Regions from separate parts of the Homo sapiens genome. Here all the other regions are linked to region 3. The links are contacts of gene promoters, found by promoter capture Hi-C in blood cells and fetal thymus (Javierre and others, 2016). All regions are on one chromosome and are shown on one strand. The core of a region is centred on a gene start or on the middle of the fragment in contact, and the rest is flanking DNA. Distances in the headings are between cores, read along the strand shown.

Region 1 (2,700 bases), core at 122-2,621, 450 kb after region 3:
CACTGCACTCCAGCCTGGGCGACAGAGTGAGACTCCGTCTCAAAAAAAAAAAAAAATGTAATTCATGTAATCAAACTGCATCTATTTAGAGTTTATAATACCATGGGTTTTGAGAGTTGTGTGCATGCACTTGCGAAAACCACTACCAAAGTACACAACATTTCCATTATCCCCAAACAACTCCACATGTCCCTTTGAGGTTCCTCATCACCCCAGCCTCCAGTTGGGCAGTCAGCTGATCTGCTTTTATATGCCATCGTTTGCATTTTCTAGGATTTTTATAAGTGGAACTGTACAGTATGCACTCTTTTGTGTCTGGCTTCTTTGATTGGAGGTGTATTTTTTGTTTGTTTTAATATAAATTTTAAGAGGTACTTCATATAGAAAAGTACAAAAATCATAAGTATATTGTTTAATCTATGTTATCTTTTTTTTCCCCTCTGAGAGAGGTCTTGTGTTCCTTGGCTCAAGCTGTTTTCCTGCCTCAGCCTCCCAAGTAGCTGGGATTATAGGTATGCACCACAGCGCCTGATTTATGTTATTGTTTTCTGTGTTTTTAAATAGTCTAGTGGTCTTTTTTTTCTTAACAACTTTTTTTTTTTTTTGAGACAGAGTCTTGCCCAGGCTGGAGTGCAGTGGTGTGATCTCAGCTTACTGCAACCTCTGCCTTCCAGGTTCAAGGAATTCTCATGCCTCAGCCTCCCAAGTAGCTGGGATTACAGGTGCATTCCACCACACCCAGTTAATTTTTGTATTTTTAGTAGAGATAGGGTTTTGCCATGTTGGCCAGGCTGTAGCTGGCCAACAGATGTATTACATCTGTAATGTACGTTTTGTAATTGGCTACTATGGAGAATATTACTAAAGATGATTAATGTTAAAAAAGTGAAACTCATCAATGGCTGGACGTCGTGGGTCATCCTTGTAATCCCAGCACTTTGGGAGGCCGAGGTGGGAAGACTGCTTGAGTCCACGAGTTCAAGACCAGCCTGGACAACACAGTGAGACCCCCCGCATCTCTACAAAAAATAAACAAAATTAGTCAGACGTGGTGGCTTGTGCCTGTAGTCCCAGCTACTCGAACTCCTGGCCTCAAGTGATCCGCCTGCCTCAGCTTCCCAAAGTGCTGGGGTTACATGCGTGAGCCATCACACCCAGCCTATTTTTCACACCTATTATGCATGAATTCATAGAGAATAAGTCCCAGCAGCTCAGGCTCCTTCCCACTGGTTCCCACAAAGTGCGCTTCTCTGGGTGGAGCAGGCTGGTACTTCAGTCTAATCCAGGTACCTTTCTCTTTGGCTTCCTTCTTTTTCTGATCATTTTCCTTCATGTGTTTCAGGAAGCTATCTCAGCTCTTAGCTTAATATGCTCCATACACCCATTAATTCTTGGCAAGAATCTTGCCCTTAACTTGTTTACCACAATGCCAGCAGCATGCTGGGTAACATTGTAGACTCTTCCAGTTTAGCCATGGTGACACTTGTGGGGCATTCCTTTTTGAACAGTGACCATTCCCCTGATGTCTACAATATCATCTTTTTTTAAAAAAAGGTTTTTTAGCTTATGTATTTATTTTTTATTTTTTTTGAGACAGGGTCTCACTCTGTTGCCCAGGCTGGAGTGCAGTGGCACAATCTCAGCTCAGTGCAACCTCTGCCTCCTGGGCTCAAGTGATCCTCCCGCCTCAGCCTTCTGAGTAACTGGGACTATAGGTGCTTGCCACCATGCCTGCTAATTTTTGTATTTTTTGTGGAGACAGAGTTTCACCATGTTGCCCAGTCTGATCTCAAACTCCTGGACTCAAGTGATCCATCAGCCTTGGCCTCCCAACGTGCTAGGATTATAGACCTGAGCCACCACACCCTGCCAATATCACCTTTCTGATAGATTCACATATATGTGGCCAAAGGAGCAACTTCATGCTTTCTAAAAGGCCTGGAGAACATATGTCAGGTACTTCTCTCCTCTTTCCCTTTTGTATTCATCATTTTGGTAAATTACTGGAAGATGGCGATTCTGGCCAGAAGGCTATCATTTTTAATAGATTCTTTATCAGGATTGAGTTTCATTAACAGAGACCCAAAATAATACAGGTTGAGTATCTCTTATCTAAAATACTTGTGACCAGAAGTGTTTTGGATTTTGGATTTTTTCTTTTTTGGAATATTTGCATTATACTTACCAGTTCATCATCCCTATTTGAAAATACAAAATGCTCCAATGACTATTTCCTTTGAGCATGATGTTGGTGCTCCAGAAGTCTCAGATTTTGGAGCATTTTGGATTTTGGATTTTCAGATTAGGAATGCTCAAACTGTACTGGCTGAACAAGGTAGACGTTTCTTTCTTTCTTATGTAAAATCCAGAATGTATATGACAATTCTATTCTATAGAATTCGCAGGGATCCAGGCTTCTTCCAGCTCACTTGGTGCTTAGCCCATTTTGTGCTGCTATAACAGAACACTTGAGACTGGGTGATTTATAATGAACAGAAATGTATTGGCTCATACAGTTCTGGAGGCTGGAAAATCCAGTATCGGGCACCAGCAGTTCTGGTGTCTCATGAGGGCACGGTCTGTTCCAAGTGGCACCTTGAATGCTGCCGGAGGGGAGGAGCGCTGACCCTCATGCAACAGAGGAATGGAAGAGGCAAACAGAGAGCCACTCCCGGAGTCTTTTTTCTAAGGAAAAGCCTC
Region 2 (2,700 bases), core at 177-2,676, 420 kb after region 3:
AATTCCCCTTATTAATTTTTTATCCTGTCACTTTAAGCCCCATTGAATCCCAAAGGATGTACAGACATGGTCTGGAGGGCTTAGTTCTTAATGGTACCAATGTTTGTTTAAATTTTCCTAACTCTAGGCAGGTGTGGTGGCATGTGCCTGTAGTCCCAGCCACTCAGGAGGCTGAGTTGGAAGGATCACCTGAGCCCAGGAGGTCGAGGCTGCAGTGAATTGTGACTGTGCCACTGCACTCCAGCCTGGGTGACAGAGTGAGATCCTGTATCAATAAATTAAATAAATAAATAAATACATAAATAAATAAATATTCCCAACTCATTGCAGCAGATACTACAGGTTTGCTTCTGGTTGCAAATGTTTGGCTTCCCCAAGAGGCAGCTGTAAAGGGGAAAGCAAGTGTATTCCAGTAAGATCATGGGGAGGGATTCCTGGTTCTGATTTATTTTTCCACTTGGTTTACTAGACTTAGATTCCTGGTGTCTCATAGTCCCTCGTCAGTTGATGCTCAGTCCCCCAGAACCATACTTGTTCTCTATGACCTTGTGAAAGTTACTTGATGCCAGGGAACACTGTGAACCACAGCCTTTATCTTCCTGTGAGTACGTGAGCAGCTGTTTCCAAGATTAGAATAAAGGTGGTAGTGATGGTGGGAGATTCCTGGCCTCCCTTCTACAAAGTGTCAGTAGGAGAATTAGATTAATGGGTATTTTTCTAATAACCTGTCCTGCTGGCATAGAATAAGAATTTCACAGGTACAGCTGCATAGCCTTGATATCTACAGCTATTCTTTTGTGAGGGAGGAGGGCATCAGAATTCTAATCATTGTGCAGAGCAGTGGCTCTCAGCCCTGGCTGCACATCAAGTCATCAGGGAGCTTTAAAAAGTACAGATGCCTGATCCCACCACAGAAGTGCCAGTTCCGTTGGCCTGGGGTGTGGTCTGGGACTCAGGATTTTTAAATCTCCCGGGTAACTCTGTGTGCAGCCAAAGTTGAGAACCACTGGTTCAGTTTATCCCTTCTATGTCAGGAAAGGGACAATATTTATAATCTGTTAGAATTACTTGAAATTTTATGGTTGTTAAAGCATACAGGTTTATATGCTGGGATGTATTATATTTGGGTTAGAATAACAGATTCATCCAGGGATGAAAATAAATGTCTCCAACATGTTCTGCATCCACTTGGCCGCCCCCGCCTTTTGTTGTCACCCCCTACTCCATCTCATCAATTTGTCTTGAGAATAATTGTGAGAAAAAGTAGCAACTGCCCTAACACATGAATTTGCAAGATGCTCTTTACTGCGTTCTCTCATTTGCTCCTCACGCCAGGAAGGTCATCTAAGAAACAAACTGTTTCTCAGTTGAAAGTCCAGAGGGGAAAGCTGACAGGCTCAGCTAGGATCAAGTGCCCACCATGGCCCCATCAGCAGCTTCTGTGAGATGGACACAGGTGCCTGGTCCAACCTCCTCTGCTGCGGCAACCACGTGCAGACCTGCACTGCTGTCGGGAGGACAGATGTTAACAAATCAGGGTCATTCTTGTCCCCTGTAGGAAAGCCTGTGGGAGACTGAGCCGTCACTAGAACATGTTTGCTAAATAGAGATGCAGAGAAAAGGGAGCTTGGGGGCCAGAGGCCGGCTTGGTTGCAGGGCGGAGGGAGTGCAAAGTACTCAACAACTGGGCCCTGCGCTCTCCCTTTGCTCCTCTTCTGGAATCCAGTCAGGTTCTTGTCTTTCCTTTGTGATTCTGCTTTGCACCTGTTGCAGTTCATCAAGACACAGTTTATCTTACCACAGGTACATCTCAATATCCTTTCAAGACCTTCTAGGGTCATTTTCATGCTTTGGGGTGGATTTCTCTTCTGCCTGTGACGTTGTCTTCCAAGATAGGTTGATTCTTACTAGTTTCAAGGGGTGGTGCATTTTGACCTTAAGCCAAATTCTGGTGCTTTCCCAGTCACAGGCGGTGGTATTCCATGTGAAAACAACTAAGTTTCAAATGGCTTGGGGCTGATACACGTCACATCTTGAGTAGGCTCAGTGTTTGAATCAGAATCAAAACACAAGTCTTCTGAATTTTAATCAAACGCTTTTTCTCTCCCGCCCAAGTGAGTTTATGTTTTTCTTTTCCACGATTTCTTTTGTAGGGGTTCAGCTGTTGCAAAAATAATTGGTAATAATGTCAAGAAACTTCAGAAATTTGCCTCCACAGTCAAGATGTGGGTCTTTGAAGAAACAGTGAATGGCAGAAAACTGACAGACATCATAAATAATGACCATGAAAATGTAAAATATCTTCCTGGACACAAGCTGCCAGAAAATGTGGTAAGACTTTGGGGTGAAATGTACATTGGTTCATTCTGCAAGTTGTGCTTGGCTGAGCAGCACTTGGGTTTTGGAACTGGGAAAGCTGCTTCCCTTTTCCCCAGTTCCTTTCCACTACCAATTGGTTGGTTGGTTTTGGTCTTCCTGACTCTGAAAATGGGTTTCCTATTATGTTGCTAAGGATGCCTTAACAAAGTGCCAGACTGGGTACCTTAAACAACAGAAATTTATCTTTTATAATTCTAGAGGTTTTGAGCATGAGATCAGGGTGTTGATAGGGTTAATTTCTTCTGAGGCCTCTCTCCTTGGCTTATAGATAGCATCTTCTGTATTTTCACATGGTCTTCCCTCTAATCCTGTCTCTGTCAT
Region 3 (2,700 bases), core at 91-2,590:
CAATCCAGGCCACTTCATATCTAATATAAATTTTTCTGTTTATAAGTAAAAGTTGGATTATCCAGGGACTAAAATTATTTATGGAAAAACGTGCTCTAAGACTATTTCTACCCAAATCAATTAGGATCACTCTAGCAGGTATAAGAAAATGCTGAGAATTGGCATTAATTTAGGGAGGAAGACAACAAATGAAAATTTAAGGCAAAACTGAAACTTTATGATACTACTGGGATTCACACTGGCCAACATACCCTGCTTTCCTCGATGCAAGTTTATTAATTCAATCACTCAATTCCAATTTTTCACATTACATAGAAAACAGGCAACTTAATAAACTGGGCAAGGGGATTATTGCACATAAAATTTTCCAGTATCCAAGTATTAAGGACTCTGGTTACAAGGTTAACTTGCCCTCAGAATTCTATTGAAAGAAGTATCCACATTCCACACTCCACATTTACCTATGTTCTTATGATGCTTGCTTACATATAAGCAAAAGCACTCTGCACAGAACATTATACATTTCTTTCCAATTATCAATAACAGGTCAGACATAATATACAGAAATTCAGAAGCTCAAAGATGTTAAACATGAAAGGATACAGACTTGTCCAAATGTCCATGCAAAAAACGAACAATTTACTAACCTCATTAGACAGAATCATCTTATATCTACAGGCACTTCTAACATACAAAGGTTATTTTAGTGGTCAAGGTGTTTAAAATTGTCTGGCCTTACATACCCACACGGACCATTCCTTTCCAACATTCCAAAGAGAGGTAATAACGGTGTTCCTTCCCTCCTGGGGTAGGCATTTTTAAAACTTCAACGTAAATAGACGTTTTCCACAGACATACTCCTAAGGTGTTCTCAATCAGCTCTAAATAACCCCAATTCTAAAGAGATGGTTGGGAAGATCTCAGTGAAGCCCACAGGATATTCCCCCAGCCAAAAGCTGAGTTTTCTTTTATTATGTGCCCAGTTCTCTAGCCACCTCATAATGGGTATTATCTGACGTCATTGGCAAGTTGCTTTGCTAGATTATGCTGAAATAATTGAGGAATCCTTACCTATGCTAACCCTGAGAGGAAGAGCCAGAGAGGGAAGTCTCTGAGCTGTGAGCTACCCTGATTCTACACTGGGAAGTTAGGGGTAGAAGCACACAGGAGCCCAGCACTTACAGCCAGTGGCCCTGGGGGTCTCCTCCAGCTCCACCTCATGACACCCCGTGCTGCTGCGTGACTGCTCCTGGTGCCAAGGCCACCGCTGCCATGAGTCTGAATGGCTAATGCTGAGATTAGCAGGGCCTCCCTTCTACTGGCCTGTCCTCCTGGCTCTCCTCCCTTTTGCCTCTTCTGGATTTCAGGTCAGTTTGAAAGTGGGTGGCTGTCTCAGCTCCCTGTGAGCTTCCATTTCCAGTCTACGCTACGGAAGTCAGAGAGCTCAGACACAAATCCCTCCCAATGGCAAAGGTGCTATAGCTGCAACTTCCTCTGCAGTGACCCGGTGGGCAGTAATCTGTATTAGCAGAATTCCTCTCATGCCAGCACCAGCTGGGGGAGGAGAGGGTAGTGCCTGGGCATTCTGCTTTGGGAAGAAAAAGGACAATCAAAACCAAGTGAAATCCAACCACCATGGTGTACCCAACAGGTGGAGTGGGCTGCAAAGTCCTTAAACATCTCAACAGGAGAAGTAGCTCCATTTTGCGGGCAATTATTTTCTGCTTGAAATTAGCTGTTCTCACCAAGAATGGACTGCATACTAAATCAATTGCTCCACTGAGGCTGCCATAAGCTTCATGAAGCAAAGAATGATTCATTCTTCTAAAGCTGTGATTTCCTATTTGCTCACAAGCCATTGCAGGGGAAATCCTCATCTTTCCCACTCACTGCTACACTCACTGTGATGTGTTTATAGACCTTCGGGGACCACACCTCCTCCAGCTGTCTGCCTTACTCGAAAATTAGACCCAGCTTGTCCCTGACTTCTAGTAGCCAGAAAGTCTTCCACAAGATCCAGCCGCATGATACGGAGTACACACATAAATGTGAAAACAAACCCCTCCATCCTTTCCCACTGTAAATCAACAGCACATGCCCTCTGTGTCTGACAATTCCTCTCAAAGACAGTGGCTCCAGCAGAGGAAATTAAGGCTGGTGCAGGTGCCCCAGAAGCTGAGTCATCCGGGATGACTGGTGGCCCTGAAGTCCCGCCCACAGAAGGACGGCCATGGGAGCCTGGCACACTGCCCCTTGGTGGCACAAATCCTGAGCAAGCCATGCCCTAACCTTAAACAAGGACCTAGGACTGTTTTCTCTCCCACAGCCTCTGAGAACTTGCCCTTTCTCTCCCAATGTGATTTGTAAACAATTCTCCTACCCAGCCTCAAGTAAATATCAGAGTTAAGCTGGTTTCATACACCATGTTGACAGTAAACATCTTAGAGGACACTTTCAATCCACCCACACTGCAGCTCAGTCCATCTGCACAAAGAGAAGACCCCCCCCCCCACCCCCATCGCGGTCCAACTTGGGGGTACATAGATGGAAAGGCAGCAGTAGTCAGCAGGTCAACTCTGTCTGAAAGAGGTCCATGGCAATGTAAATACCAATCTACTGGCAACCACAAAGCACCCACATAGACAGGCACTGCAAGGAATGGAGGGTTTGAAGAAGCAGGTCTTGATGGAGTTTTAAAGA

What was found. Contacts are between HindIII fragments. The CHiCAGO score rates a contact against its expected background, and 5 or more counts as called.
Region 1: a fragment that was not itself captured here is called in contact with the fragment with the promoter of OSBPL10-AS1 in region 3 in 1 of 17 cell types (naive B cells); the score reaches 5.2 in naive B cells.
Region 2: a contact is called between a fragment that was not itself captured here and the fragment with the promoter of OSBPL10-AS1 in region 3, in 1 of 17 cell types (naive B cells). The highest score is 6.0, in naive B cells.

What each region holds. Positions count from the first base shown.
Region 1 is chr3:32,149,908-32,152,607 of GRCh38, forward strand. All of the region lies in intron 5 of GPD1L (glycerol-3-phosphate dehydrogenase 1 like), which reads left to right. It also overlaps the pseudogene RPL21P137. Among named protein-coding and RNA genes, the nearest start is that of GPD1L, 45 kb to the left of the region's middle. The HindIII fragment of the contact is 5,964 bases long and covers 1-2,700 here.
Region 2 is chr3:32,125,923-32,128,622 of GRCh38, forward strand. It overlaps GPD1L (glycerol-3-phosphate dehydrogenase 1 like), which reads left to right. Exons shown (of 8, transcript NM_015141.4): 2 at 2,154-2,331. Among named protein-coding and RNA genes, the nearest start is that of GPD1L, 21 kb to the left of the region's middle. The HindIII fragment of the contact is 3,239 bases long and covers 1-2,700 here.
Region 3 is chr3:31,702,873-31,705,572 of GRCh38, forward strand. OSBPL10-AS1 (OSBPL10 antisense RNA 1) reads left to right here and starts at 1,341. Exons shown (of 5, transcript NR_049771.1): 1 at 1,341-1,367. All of the region lies in intron 6 of OSBPL10 (oxysterol binding protein like 10), which reads right to left. The HindIII fragment of the contact is 3,023 bases long and covers 1-1,793 here.